3 separate regions of the Homo sapiens genome follow, and all the other regions are linked to region 3. The links are contacts of gene promoters, found by promoter capture Hi-C in blood cells and fetal thymus (Javierre and others, 2016). All regions are on one chromosome and are shown on one strand. The core of a region is centred on a gene start or on the middle of the fragment in contact, and the rest is flanking DNA. Distances in the headings are between cores, read along the strand shown. Region 1 overlaps PGD (phosphogluconate dehydrogenase). Region 2 overlaps KIF1B (kinesin family member 1B). Region 3 holds the start of UBE4B (ubiquitination factor E4B).

The links. The method cuts DNA at HindIII sites, captures the fragments that hold promoters and counts their contacts. A CHiCAGO score of 5 or more calls a contact.
Region 1: a fragment that was not itself captured here is called in contact with the fragment with the promoter of UBE4B in region 3 in 3 of 17 cell types (erythroblasts, monocytes and megakaryocytes); the score reaches 6.1 in erythroblasts.
Region 2: a fragment that was not itself captured here is called in contact with the fragment with the promoter of UBE4B in region 3 in 2 of 17 cell types (endothelial precursors and megakaryocytes); the score reaches 8.5 in endothelial precursors.

Annotation. Positions count from the first base shown.
Region 1 is chr1:10,412,738-10,417,488 of GRCh38, forward strand. PGD (phosphogluconate dehydrogenase) reads left to right here. Exons shown (of 13, transcript NM_002631.4): 8 at 325-514; 9 at 4,250-4,380; 10 at 4,639-4,751. Among named protein-coding and RNA genes, the nearest start is that of CENPS, 15 kb to the right of the region's middle. The HindIII fragment of the contact is 991 bases long and covers 2,847-3,837 here.
Region 2 is chr1:10,337,232-10,341,725 of GRCh38, forward strand. It overlaps KIF1B (kinesin family member 1B), which reads left to right. Exons shown (of 49, transcript NM_001365951.3): 31 at 140-302; 32 at 2,538-2,628. Among named protein-coding and RNA genes, the nearest start is that of PGD, 60 kb to the right of the region's middle. The HindIII fragment of the contact is 1,089 bases long and covers 1,087-2,175 here.
Region 3 is chr1:10,031,705-10,036,366 of GRCh38, forward strand. It overlaps UBE4B (ubiquitination factor E4B), which reads left to right and starts at 1,254. Exons shown (of 28, transcript NM_001105562.3): 1 at 1,254-1,990. The coding sequence starts at 1,967. RefSeq lists silencers at 872-1,261, 1,292-1,511 and enhancers at 1,026-1,680, 2,072-2,121. The HindIII fragment of the contact is 8,691 bases long and covers 1-2,440 here.

The DNA.
Region 1 (4,751 bases), core at 2,092-4,591, 380 kb after region 3:
GAGTAAACTGGGACAAGATCCGGTGATTGCAGAAGGCTTCTGAGGAGGCGACACTGCACAGAGACCTAAGTGAAGTGAGGAGCCCTTGCCTCTGAGGAGACAACACTTCTGGTGGCCAGAAATTCAGTATAACCAGGTTCAGAACAAACACAACTGACTCTGGGTTAGCATAAAACTCAACCAGCAGGAGCAGAAGTCCCCAGGCAGACGCGAGCAGAGCCTGCTGGCAACCGTGAGCATTGGTCAGCGTGGACATTGGACAAGGGGCTTCCTTGCTCAGCCCTCATTCCTCTAACATGGTTCTCTCCTGTGTTCTGCATGTAGGCCTTTGAGGATTGGAATAAGACAGAGCTAGACTCATTCCTGATTGAAATCACAGCCAATATTCTCAAGTTCCAAGACACCGATGGCAAACACCTGCTGCCAAAGATCAGGGACAGCGCGGGGCAGAAGGGCACAGGGAAGTGGACCGCCATCTCCGCCCTGGAATACGGCGTACCCGTCACCCTCATTGGTAATGTTATGCTTTTCACATGGGCCCTTTCGTCCACTATTCTGATCTTGATGTCTGGAGGACAGATACAGACTGGTCTTTAGAGAATCTCTTCAGCCCTCTTTAGCTTTCAGAGTGCCTTTTGCTCTTTCTTGCGTTGAAGAAACTGACAGTGTGAGAGAGGCTGACGCTGCTTTTGATTCTCTTCCTTGTAGTTCTTATCTCATTCGTACAAACTGTGAGGTAAATTCAGAAGTGACTGTCCTTCCTATCCAGTTTTATCTTTGGAATATTTTAGCATTAGTGATGTAATTGTAGTCAGTGATCTAAGATTTTATTTATGAGGCAGGTAACTTGAGTAAAATTTTTCATAGAAAAGTTCATGAATAACAGGGCCGGGCACAGTGGTTCACGCCTGTAATGCCAGCACTTTGGGAGGCCGAGGCGGGTGGATCATGAGGTCAGGAGATTGAGACCATCCTGGCTAACATGATGAAACCCTGTTTCTACTAAAAATACAAAAAATTAGCCAGGTGTGGTGGCACGTGCCTGTAGTCCCAGCCACTCAGGAGGCTGAGGCAGGAGAATTGCTTGAACCTGGGAGGCAGAGTTTGCAGTGAGCTGAGATGGCACCACTGCACTCCAGCCTGGGTGACAGAGCGAGACTTCGTCTCAAAAAAAAAAAAAAATTAGCAGGTGCCTGTAATCCCAGCTACTCAGGAGGTTGAGCCATGAGAATCGCTTGAACCCAGGAGGCAGAGGTTGCAGTGAGCCAAGATCATGCCACTGCACTCCAGCCTGGGCAACAGAATGAGACTCCATCCCCTCCAAAAAAAGTTTGCGAATAACATATGCTTGTGTACTCAGAAATTATTAAAAATTTACTTTTTTCCCCTAGATATTAAAAAGATAAAAATTACCTATCCATTTGAGTCCTCGTTGTTTTGCTAAGTTCCTTCTCCTTCCTCTTTTAGAAGAAAGCCACTATCCTGAAGTTGGTGTGTATCCTGCCCACTTGTTTTATATCTTACATTAGTGAGCTAAGCATCAAACTCAGAAAGATAAGGAAATAATATAAAGAAATAAACATAAAACGAGAGGGGATTAACAATATCAAAATCTTGGCCGGGGGGGTGGTTTTCAGTGTGTTTGTTTGTTTTTTGAGACGGTGTTGTGCTCTGTCACCCAGGCTGGAGTTCAGTGGCATGATCTCGGGTCACTGCAACCTCCACCTCCCGGGTTCAAGTGATTCTCCTGCCTCAGCCTCCCGAGTAGCTGGGATTACAGGCATGCGCTACCATGCCTGGCTAATTTTTGTGTGTTATTAGTGGAGACGGGGTTTTACCATATTGGTCAGGCTGGTCTCGAACTCCTAACCTCAGGGGATCTGCCCGCCTCGGCTTCCAAAAGTGCTGGGATTGCAGGCGTGAGCCACCATGCCCAGCAAAGGTGGTTCTAAGAGTAAAATACATAGACTTCTGGCAGGAATGAAAAAGGAGAACGAAGGATGCCTCTCGTGGTTAATGAGAGGCTGATCTTTGCTTCTGGCAGATTGTTCTCACTATATTAAAACAGAATTGGGCCAGGCGCGGTGGCTCACGCCTGTAATCCCAGCACTTTGGGTGACCGAGGTGGGCGGATCACGAGGTCAGGAGTTTGAGTCCAGCCTGACCAACATGGCGAAACCCCATCTCTACTAAAAATACGAAAGTTAGCCAGGCATAGTGACCCGTGCCTGTAATCCCAGCTACTCAGGAGGCTGAGGCAGGAGAATCACTTGAACCTGGGAGGCGGAATTTGCAGTGGGCTGAGATCGCACCACTGCACTCCAGGCTGGGCGACCGAGCAAGACTCCGCCTAAAAAAAAAAAAAGAAGCATCTCAAAAATAATAAAACAGAATTTTTCCTGTTTGCTCCTCTGGATACAGGTTGCCTTTCTCTCCCTTGACTCTTCTCCCCTTTTGACCTCCCTGTTCATTGTGCCTCGCCCTATTGAACTGTGTGGTGTAAGGCAGAGTAAGGAGGAAAGTCGGTGGTTTCTACAGTTCCGTGCTGTATAGAAGGAAGTTGGCTGCTTTTAGCCGATCTGAGCCATAACATAGGTGAGGAGGGAGGGGCCAATAGCTAGGAGCAATTTATTCATCACGGACTCAAGTATATGTGTAAGTATTAGGATCTCAGAATCCTACTCTCCTCCTGTGGATCCATATACCTCTTCCCCCAGGGTGGCTGGGCCCACCCCCTGCTGGGAGCCATCATTATTTGTGAACTAACAGGGAAGTCTTCCAGCTGCCCTCTCCCCCTCTAACAGGAAGGGTTTGCCTCATAGCCTGTTGCACCAGTCATCTTACAAAGCTTCCTTCTAGAAATGCTAAGTCATCCTGTGTGTGCATTTGGGCCAGGAGAGAGGTAGCTGCTTTTGTGTGTTTGGAGTAGGGTTAGCAGTCTCAAGCCATAGCTGCTCCTCTTTCCTCAGAAATAAAGTCCTCTGTTAGTTCCCTGAGATTTTACTTCATTTTGTCTATGGGGGAAAAAGTGGTTAAAGAGTCATTTATTCTAACTATAAGTTGTCAGTTGAGCAAGTCTTTTATAAGGAATACTTTCTGAAAATACTAAATGTCTTAATATTAAAATACTACATTGACTTTTTAATTCAAATGAAGTAAAGTGGTTAAACTTGAATGATTACGGCTATACTGAAAACCGTAAAATATAAAAACCTAACATTTTTTTGAGAGGTGAGTCCGTAAATGTGACTTATCAATGTAAAATCTTCAAAAAAAAAAATTAAGGTCCTCTAAATTGAATTTGAAATTTTACTCATGGACCAACACTGAGTATTCTACATAACAGTGGTTTTTATTTTATTTTACTGGTTTTAGAGACAGGGTCTCACTGTGTTGCCCAGGCTGGAGAGCAGTGGTGTGATCATGGCTCACTGTAGCCTTGAACTCCTGGGCTCAAGTGATCCTCCCACCTCAGCCTGCCAAAGTGCTGGGATTACAGGTGTTAGCCACCTTGCCCAGCCATAACAGTGGTTTCTATCTCTTCATTTTCCCTCAAAACTCCCTTTTGAATTTCATGTTAATCTTTGTGATTGAATACTCATGTTTGTATTGGAAGATTGTCTTAAGAGTTTTAGTTATCAAATTAACTGTTTAGAGCTTCTTATAAAAGTTCCTTCCGATCCATGTCAACTTTTGTGGCCTAAGGTTGAAACTTTCAGCTCTTTGTATAAACAGACTTTCCTGCTCCACCTTTCTTCTGGTTGCTGTGCGAACTTTGGTAATTTTCATGCGCATCCGTGTGAAAAGACCACCAAACAGGCTTTGTGTGAGCAATAAAGCTTTTTAATCACCTGGGTGCAGGCAGGTTGAGTCCGAAGAGTCAGCGAAGGGAGATAGGGGTGGGGCCATTTTATAGGATTTGGGCAGGTAGTGGAAAATTACAGTCAAAGGGGGTTTTTCTCTTACGGGCAGGGCCGAGGGGTCACAAGGTGCTCAGTTGGGGAGGTTCTGAGCCAGGAGAAGGAATGTCACAAGGTTAATCGCTCAGTTAAGGTGGGGCAGGAACAAATCACAATGGTGGAATGTCATCAGTAAAGGCAGGAACCAGCCATTTTCACTTCTTTTGTGATTCTTCACTTGCTTCAGGCCATCTGGATGTATACATGCAGGTCACAGGGGATATGATAGTTTAGCTTGGGCTCAGAGGCCTGACAGTAATCTGTTTCCTCTTCCCGATCTCCCCATGTAGGAGAAGCTGTCTTTGCTCGGTGCTTATCATCTCTGAAGGATGAGAGAATTCAAGCTAGCAAAAAGCTGAAGGGTCCCCAGAAGTTCCAGTTTGATGGTGATAAGAAATCATTCCTGGAGGACATTCGGAAGGTGGGACACAGTCCCTGGCAGTGGTCTTTGTTGGTCCTGCGGAAGGCAGTGGGGGTGGGGGTTGTGGTGGGAGAACACTCGAGGCCACAGGATGGCAGGTGGAATGAAGTTCAGCCTTGACTTGGATCTTGACTTACAATGTTTTCCTAGAATATTGGCCCTTCTGGGATCTCCACTGCTGATGAGAATAAGACTGGTAGACATAAGGCGGTCACTCTCCTAATGGCAATCCTAGTAGGTCTCTGTGTCACTCTTTAGGCACTCTACGCTTCCAAGATCATCTCTTACGCTCAAGGCTTTATGCTGCTAAGGCAGGCAGCCACCGAGTTTGGCTGGACTCTCAATTATGGTGGCATCGCCCTGATGTGGAG
Region 2 (4,494 bases), core at 381-2,880, 310 kb after region 3:
GGACATTTTCGACAAAGGGAAAATATTGACCATTATCAAGGGACATAGTGGCCTTCATCAACTAGGAATGGAAAGCATGCCCAACTCCCTCCTCTTTGCATTATTTGAACCATCTGTGTCTTCATTTGACCCTCTTTAGATTTGAAGTCAAGCACTTTGCTGGATGGTAAGATGGTAATGGAAGGGTTTTCTGAAGAGATTGGCAACCACCTGAAACTGGGCAGTGCCTTCACTTTCCGAGTAACAGTGTTGCAGGCCAGTGGAATCCTCCCAGAGTATGCAGATATCTTCTGTCAGTTCAAGTAAGCTGCCCCTTTGCTCTGCCTCCCAGCTAGCTGCTAACCGAGGTGACATCTCTTGTGCACTGTAGAGTGCTTTACATGTGTGAGGGATTAACACTCTTGAGACAAAGACTGATCAGTCTCTGAAGGAAAATACTTTCATCACTCCTATGGGAGTGAGAACCAGAAACCTGTCCTGGAATGCAACAGGGTTCCCTGGCAGGAGGAGCATGCTGCACATCCTGCTGCAGGGCTCTGCTGTGAGCGGTCCCCCTTTACCAGGAATGTAGGGTCTGATCACATAAGCCTGTTGATGAGTCTTTCTAGTCCTCTTCATGTTGAAATGTCTTATTAATAAGCCTGAAAGCAATGACTTATCTAGCTAGCAATTACGCCTATTTAATACTCGGGAAAAGGAAAATTTAAACAATGTAAAGAAGGATAAATTCTACATCAACTGAAAAAAGCTAGTATGTAGGGAAGATGTGATACCTCTCATTTCTCATCTACATAGGACTTGCTCTTTCCCGCGGCCCTCTCAAACCCTGTGCTCTGGATGCTTTCTTCTCAAGACTGCCCCAGGAAAACATTTTTTTGTGAATCTTCAGTTTTAATACCTCCAAACTTCAATTTGTCTTTTCAGTACTTGGAAAGGGCCACAGTACAAGAGACTGAAGTGTGACCCCTCCATACCTACCGCCCTCAGTTTGCCACTGGTGCCACCAAGAGGCTGCTTTGGGTTCTGCCATCCCTCTCCCCTCAGAATGTGCCTTGGCCGTCCCATGGGTCCTAGTGCAGTTTATAAAGCTTTTGTATAGGTTTTATCACAGAAAATTGAGTCAAATGTGATTTAAATTAAATGTGATCACTATATAGTAAGCCACTAATATCATTTGCTACAAGTCATAGTTGTTGGAATATTACCCATTGAGCATTGATTTCACCTATTTAATGTGTTTTCACTCATACCCTCAAACTTAGGGCAGGATAGTGTTCACCAGATGAATCTGTTTTTTGGAACTGTTGCTATTATTCTAATCAGGCAACTGATACGTTTTATGGAAAACATCTATTTGGTTAACTGATGTCTGAAGTGACAATAATAGTGAGTTGACCTTTGTCCTACAATCTCCTAAAAAGAGCAGCATCTCTACCTGGTGTTAGCTCTGGGGAAAAGGGCATGTTGCTTCTGTTGAAAGCAGCCTCAAAGGCGTCCTGTGTTTTTATAGTCGCTCCTCTGGCCTGTGCCGGGAAGGTATGGCTGCAGAGCACTGTGAATGAGTTCACCTGTCGTCAGGGAACCCCAGGAATGCTGCGGTGCCAGCAATACAGGAATCAGGGATTTGGAGCACTTGGCAAAAGCATGCTAGTGTTCTCAGACGGGTGAACTAATTTGGAAGACAACAAGTTCATATTACCAGTCTGTCTGTCCCCCCAGTTGAAAATAGTTTCTTTTTCTCCATTTTTTCTTGATGGAAGGGGTGTCCTTCTGATGGATTTTTCTATCTGGCAGTAAATCTTTGTGTTGGGTCCTCTTTAACTGTGCAGTTCTTTTTATTTCAGACTAATAATAGGGAGAGAGAGAGAGAGAACGATAACATCTCACTATCTGTGAAAATAACTAAATATAGCCCATTGTTTTAACAAATCTTTCCAGAGTATCTTCTGTGTGTCGAGACCTGTGGGAAAACGCTTGCTGTCTGGGGGAGAGAGGCATATAAATACATTATTACAGTGAAATCATTGCTATTAAGGAAAAAAACATTACTAGTAATGTGGGAACACAAAGCTGCCAGGGTAAGTCAGGAAAGACTGCCTGGAAGAGGTGACATTTGAATCCACAACAGACTCTTATGTAACTATGCCATCCACAGGCTCTCGCACTAACTGTGGAAGCTTGAGTCTGCTAAATTTTGTCTGTACAAAATGACATTGTTTTTATTTTTAGTAAAAAGCTTTTACAAAGGAAGAGGAGTTAATTGAATGTACTTCTTCACTCTCTCTAAAGCATTCTTGCATATACCTCCATATAGCTAAGTGATCAGGGTCAGTTAATTTTTCAGTCATTTTTGAAATAAAATCTAAAATGCCCTCTGTGCAATATGGAAAAGGTTCTTGACAAGGAAAGTAAATAACTTAAAGAATCTGCTTAAGTGGAATGCTTCTTTCTGTAGGATCCACATTGGGCTCTTGAAAGAGATTCTGATAAAACCGTTTAATGCATTGTTCACGAGTCTTTTTATTTTTTTTATGAAGCTTTTTGCATCGCCATGATGAAGCATTCTCCACGGAGCCCCTCAAAAACAATGGCAGAGGAAGTCCCCTGGCCTTTTATCATGTGCAGAATGTAAGTGACATGGACCTTTTTGCCAAACATATGTTTTTCTGGTACCTTGGCTTTCTCAGCCCGGGAAGGGTGATAAGAAGAGGTACAAGTCACTGGCTGTGCAGGGGGAGAGTAGACAATAGAGGGCGTGGCTAGAGTGGTGAGGTCATCCACAGCGGCCTGAGCAGCAAGCCTTCTTGTCTGTGTTACAGTGGGCCTAGTGAATGTGGGTTCGTCTGCCAATAAAATCTTCCATCAGTTTGAATGCAATGAGTTGTTTTAGTGTTTCTGTCCTAGAAAAATAAGCATGCTTAATAAGAGTTTTATTAAAGTGAATGCATTGTCCTTTAAACCCTAAGATACTTATGTTGCTCGATTGCAAATAACATAAAAAATATCAAATACCTTCTGTAGCTAAATTAAGATTTAGATCTGTTTTCCTTGCAACTGATAGTATAATTAACACATTAATGCCCTTTACAACTGTATTCCTACGTGGAGTAAGAAAACAGACCCTTCCCTCTCTTACGTGAAATTTCATTCAAACTCTATTCCAAAGTCATTATCCTCATCACAATAGCTAATATTCACTGAGAGTTTATTTTGTGTTAGTCACTGTTCTGAGAGTTTTTGTGTAATTTAATCTTTACCTTTATACCATAGATTAAGATAATCCCTGTGTTAGCTGAGATGACTGAAGCATAGAGCAATTAAAGTCACTCATCAGGCTGGGCGCAGTGGCTCATACCTGTCCCGGCACTCTGGGAGGCCGAGGCAGGTGGATCACTTGAGGTCAGGAGTTTGTGACCAGCCTGGCCAACATGGTGAAATCCCATCTGAGACACGAGAATTGCTTGAACCCAGGATGGGGGGGTTGCAGTGAGTTGAGATTGTGCCACTGCACTCCAGCCTGGGCAAGAAAGCGAGACTCCCATCTCAAAAAAAATAAAAAAGTAATAATAAAAATAAAGTTACTCATCAGTGTTACAAGAGGCAGAGATAGGACTTAAGCTCAGAGAAATTTAGCTCTGGTATTCAGGATATTCACTACTACATGAAACTGTCTCTCATTCTCTTGCTAACCATGTCTGCTCTCTAAAGTAAGAGAGGAAAGGAGAACTTCAAAGATGGAACAAGCAAACACAAAATATGCCATCTTCTTTTTCATGTTGGTATAAATATAAGCAAGCATGTATCTGATAAACTTTGATCAGCTGCTGTGCACAAGGATTGTGCCTGACAACTGGGGAATGCAGATGAATCTCAGATGCTCCCAGTGAGCTTCGAATTACGATAGGGGAAATAAAATGCATACATAAACACCAGTCATGCAAAGATGAACATGAGAAAATATTCACTAAATGCAGTGGGAGTGGAGAAAGGGAAAGTTATTTCTATTAATGGAAAGCTATTTTAAGTTACTTTTTGTTGGGGAGGATAGTTGGGTGGAGAAAGGGGATAGGAAGCTCCCTGAAGGATGTAGTATAAGCAAGAAAAGGTGTGTCAAACTTGGCATTGTGCCTGGCACATAGGCCATAGTCAGTACATGCATGGATGTGCTGGAAGGGCCTTCCAGGCAGGGTTGCAGCCTGGGCCAGTCCTTGGCACAGCTGAGGAGAGAGCAGGTGAAAGGAGCAGCAGGTGAGTGAGTGAGCCAGAATAGTAAGTGTGGGAAGGACAACAGGGGCCAAGATCAGTTGAGGCAAAGTATGGAAGATCTTGAATACCTGAAGCTGGGAAAAGTTACTTTAGAATTAAAAACAACATAGGGGATCCCCTGTTTTTTGTTGCAAGAGTCCTGCATAGTAAAATACCCAGCAGATACTGGACACTCAGCAGCAGTAAAATTGGGCCAGGCATAGTGGCTCATGCCTGTAATCCAGCACT
Region 3 (4,662 bases), core at 4-2,503:
GGTTCCTATTTTAAGCATGTAGCAAATACATTGTAACTCTTAATTCTGGAATGCAGTCTTTATGGCTTAGTGAGCCATCCAATCCACTTATAGTCTTCGTCAGCGGCAAAATCTGGAATTTCATGGTACTGTTACTTTGATCGCTCAACTTAGATTTATATTTTATAAATATATATATACATACATATATATATATTTTTTGAGATGGAGTCGCGCTCTGTCGCCCAGGCTGGAGTGCAGTGGCGCGATCTCGGCTCACTGCAAGCTCCGCCTCCCGGGTTCACGCCATTCTCCTGCCTCAGCCTCCCGAGTAGCCGGGACTACAGGCGCCCGCCGCCACATCTGGCTGATTTTTTGTATTTTTTAGTAGAGACGGGGTTTCACCGTGTTAGCCAGGATGGTCTCGATCTCCTGACCTCGTGATCCGCCCGCCTCGGCCTCCCAAAGTGCTGGGATTACAGGCGTGAGCCACCGCGCCCGGCCAAATATTTGTATTCTTGTGCACCGGAGGATGGTTTTCCCCCACTGACTCCAAACGTCTTCCTTGCATTTGCTGTGTACAATTCAGTGATTTGGGTCTCTCATCCATTTATACTTTCAAATTTTACCAATACTTTTTGAACACACTTAAAAAAAAAAAAACCCAGGAAGTATCTCTAAAAGGCCAAGGTAAAATAAAATGAATGGGAGTTCTTGTGTTCGAGTTTTCTTCCAACTGGGCTTTCCTGGAGGAGGTGGAAGAGTGTGTGGCAGATGTTTCAGAAAATGAGCGCTCAATACGGTAGATCACGCTCCCGGGGTCAAGGAGACGTTTTCCGTTTTCTTTTCCCTCGCTTAGGCGGCGGGCGCGCACAGTCCAGTGGGAGCGATGAGGTGTTTCTAGGCCCCCAAGTCACAGAAAAGCAGGCGATTGGGAACAACGGAGGCGCGGCGGGCCCCCGGGCCGCGGGCCAGCGCCACCTTCTGGTGGATCTTCCCCGACGCGAGTCTGGGAGTCGTCCCTCCCCTTGCCAGCCTACCTGGCTCAGGCCCGCCGCGCCCGCAGCCCCAGCGCGGTCGCCGTGGCAACGCCCCGCCCAGCCGCCAGCCTCCCTTTGCCCCTCCCCACGTCCGGCGCGGCTGCGCGGGACGGGGTGGGACGGAGGCGGGGAGAGGACGCAGGCGAGAGGAACTCGGCGGCGCGGCGCCCGCGGCCTATTGGCTGCCACGTCCCGGCGCCAGAAGCCCCGCCTCCCTGACGGGGGTCACGTGATCCCTTTCAAAGATGGCCGCCCTGTTGTTTTGATGAATAATACTTGGTGGGGCGAGGGGGAAAGAGTAGGGGTGGAGGGGTAGGAGGATTTACTCTTCCAGCGAGAGCTACGCGCATCCCATCCTCCCCCTCCCCCCTACCCGGGCTCCGGCGTGGAGGCGGGGCGTGGCCGGCCTGCTTTGGGAGGGGAGGGGCTTCCCTTACAGTGCTGGGCTCTGCCAGGACGGCTGTGGGGTCGCCTTACCTCGGGGTATCCACTCTGCAGTCGACCAGTTCCCGCCAGGAGCAAAGGGTAGGAAGGAGAGCAGGATCTGCTGTAGGAACGCAGCTACCGCGCCACTATCACGAAGAAACAGCAGGCTCGGGGCACGAGACGAACTGGAGACCGCGCTGCCTAGCTGGGTAACCTGGGAAGCAGAGGGTAATAAGTGGCGCCTTAAGACAACCCTGTAGCAGCAGCAGTGGCGGCCAAAGGAGGCTGCTCAGGGAACAAGCGGCTGTAGTAGTCTGTGGGGCGACTGGAGTGACCGAAGCCAAGGCAGTTTAGTGCCTCTCGTGTTCTTATTTTTTAACCTCTGACTATGCAATTCTGAAACCTCCCCCATTCGGGGGACCAGACAGCCTGATAGACACCTTCCACTCTCCTTCCTCCCGCCGTGGTCTCGAGAACAGAAGGATCTCTCCTTAACGCCTTTCACCATTAAGAGGAAAGCGATGGAGGAGCTGAGCGCTGATGAGGTGAGGAGGTTGGGGGACACCTTGAGGGATTAGTTGGCAACTCGTTAGCGCTTTGGACAGGGATGGTATTGCGCCAGTGCTGTCTGGCCTTTGGGCTTGGAGAAGGAACGGAGATGATATTTTCCAAGAATAACGTGACTCCCCGATAGGGTCTCTGGTTTTGTTCTCCTTTATTCTGTTGCCTTCTTTCTTCATTCTGAACTCCATTTGCTTCTTTCCGAGTGTTCTTTTAGGGTATGAACAAGAGGAGAGAGCATCTTGAGGTGTTTATTCTTTTCTTCAGGGTATGCGAACAAGAAGGGCGAGATTTACATGAAGTTAAAGTGTGTGTGTGTCTGTGTCTTCAGGAATTTAAAGAACAATTTTGGATGGAATGAGAATGTATGGTGGGTGAATATTTTTAAAGAAAGCATTTGAAATTCCAGATATGTGTGGTTATTGCACTGTATAAGCTTGATTAAACATATATTTTTGCTTGAGGGGTGGTTTACAGACAGATTCTTTGATATTTAACAAAATATGTATCTTCTCCACAGTTTAGAGAATTCCAGTTATATTCTGGTACTTAATAGACCACTAATGACTTCTGGCATTCTTCTGTTACATTCTATCTTTTCCTACTTCTTGAATCTTTCAAACTTGTGTTTTGCTGTAGCAGAGACTGAACGGGAAGCAAGTGGAAGCAAATGACTTTCTAAACTCTCTCCTGTTCTCATTTCTTAAAGGAGTTATACAGATCTACTTCTTGATGTTTTAAAGATTGTTTAATAAATTAGGTTGTTGTAAAAAAAAAAACAACCAAAAAGCAGTGGCAATTAGGGTACAAGGAATTTCCTATGATTCTACTGCCTTTTCTCTTCCTTTTTGCAAATTAGGAGCTTCCCTTTCAGGACCCCTACTGGCCATACCCTCTTTAGCCTACCTCCACATTTCTTCACTGGTTCATCATGTAAACTTCCCTACAGTATTAGGAAAGCAGTCATCCATCAAGTTGATTGTACTACAAGACTTCCATGCTCCAGTTTTAGCTACAGAGTACTTAGTGTGTTTACTTAGGGACTGAAATTCTCCTGGGATAGGACACGCAGTGGTGTGTTAAGGGTCAGGTAGGAAAGGAAGCAAATGATTTTGTTGATTGTGATACTTGGATACTTGGTTTGGAAAATCAGGACTGCCCATTCGGCGTTACTTTGTTTTTTTCGAATACAGCAGAAATGTAATCTTAAGTGAAGAGAATATTACACAGTTTCTTTCATTCGGTAGGAAATCTCCTTAGAATCGCTTTATTTTATGTGGGTTTTTTTTTGTTTGTTTGTTTTTTTGAGACGGAGTCTTGCTCTGTCGCCCAGGCTGCAGTGCAGTGGCGCGATCTCGTCTCACTGCAAGCTCCGCCTCCCGGGTTCACACCATTCTCCTGCCTCAGCCCCCTGAGTAGCTGGGACTACAGGCGCCCGCTACCACGCCCGGCTATTTTTTGTATTTTTAGTAGAGATGGGGTTTCACCATGTTGGCCAGGATGGTCTCCATCTCTTGACCTCGTGATGCACCCGCCTCAGCCTCCCAAAGTGCTGGGATTACAGGCGTGAGCCACCGCGCCTGGCCTGTTTTATGTGGTTTTTTAAAAGTTTCTCTACCTCCCCCGTTTTTCATTAATGTTAATTCTAGTGAGTAATTTCTCTTAAGGCAGAGATACTGTTTTTTTTTTTTTTTTTTTTTTTTTGAGGCGGAGTCTCGCTCTGTCGCCCAGGCTGGAGTGCAGTGGCGCTATCTCAGCTCACTGCAAGCTCTGCCTCCCGGGTTCACGCCATTCTCCTGCCTCAGACTCCGGAGTAGCTGGGACTACAAGCGCCCGCCACCACTCCCGGCTAGTTTTTTGTATTTTTTTGTGTTTTTAGTAGAGACGGGGTTTCACTGTGTTAGCCAGGATGGTCTCGATTTCCTGACCTTGTGATCTGCCCGCCTCGGCCTCCCAAAGTGCTGGGATTACAGGCGTGAGCCACCGTGACCGGCCAGAGATAGTTTTTTTATTTTTTTTTATTTTTTATTTATTTTATTTTATTTTTTTTGAGACGGAGCCTCGCTCTGTTGCCCAGGCTAGAGTGCAGTGGCGCGATCTCAGCTCACTGCAAAGCTCCGCTTCCCGGGTTCACGCCATTCTCCTGCCTCAGCCTCCCGAGTAGCTGGGACTACAGGCGCCCGCCACCACGCCCGGCTAATTTTTTGTGTTTTTAGTAGAGACGGGGTTTCACCGTGTTAGCCCAGGATGGTCTCAATCTCCTGACCTCGTGATCCGCCCGCCTCGGCCTTCCAAAGTGCTGGGATTACAGGTGTGAGCCACCGCGCCCGGCCGAGGTAGTTTTTTAGTAGTCCTTTACTCCTATAAATTACTTTTTTTTTTTTTTTTTGATGATCTGTTAATAGTCCTTGGTTTAGAGGCTTTTGCATACTTGAGTTTTCACCAAAAAATTCTTTTCAAACCAGTGAGGCATTACAGACCAGTGAAGATATTGTATAATCTAAAATGTGTCTCTTCACTTTCATCAGTCCTTGAGGAAGGTGTAACTTTTTTTTGTGACCATATGAGGAACACATGTAACCTTTGTGGAAGAAATAGAATAAACTTTTTTCAAGGTCAACAGAATATTAAAATAAATGAAAAAAATTAAATTCAC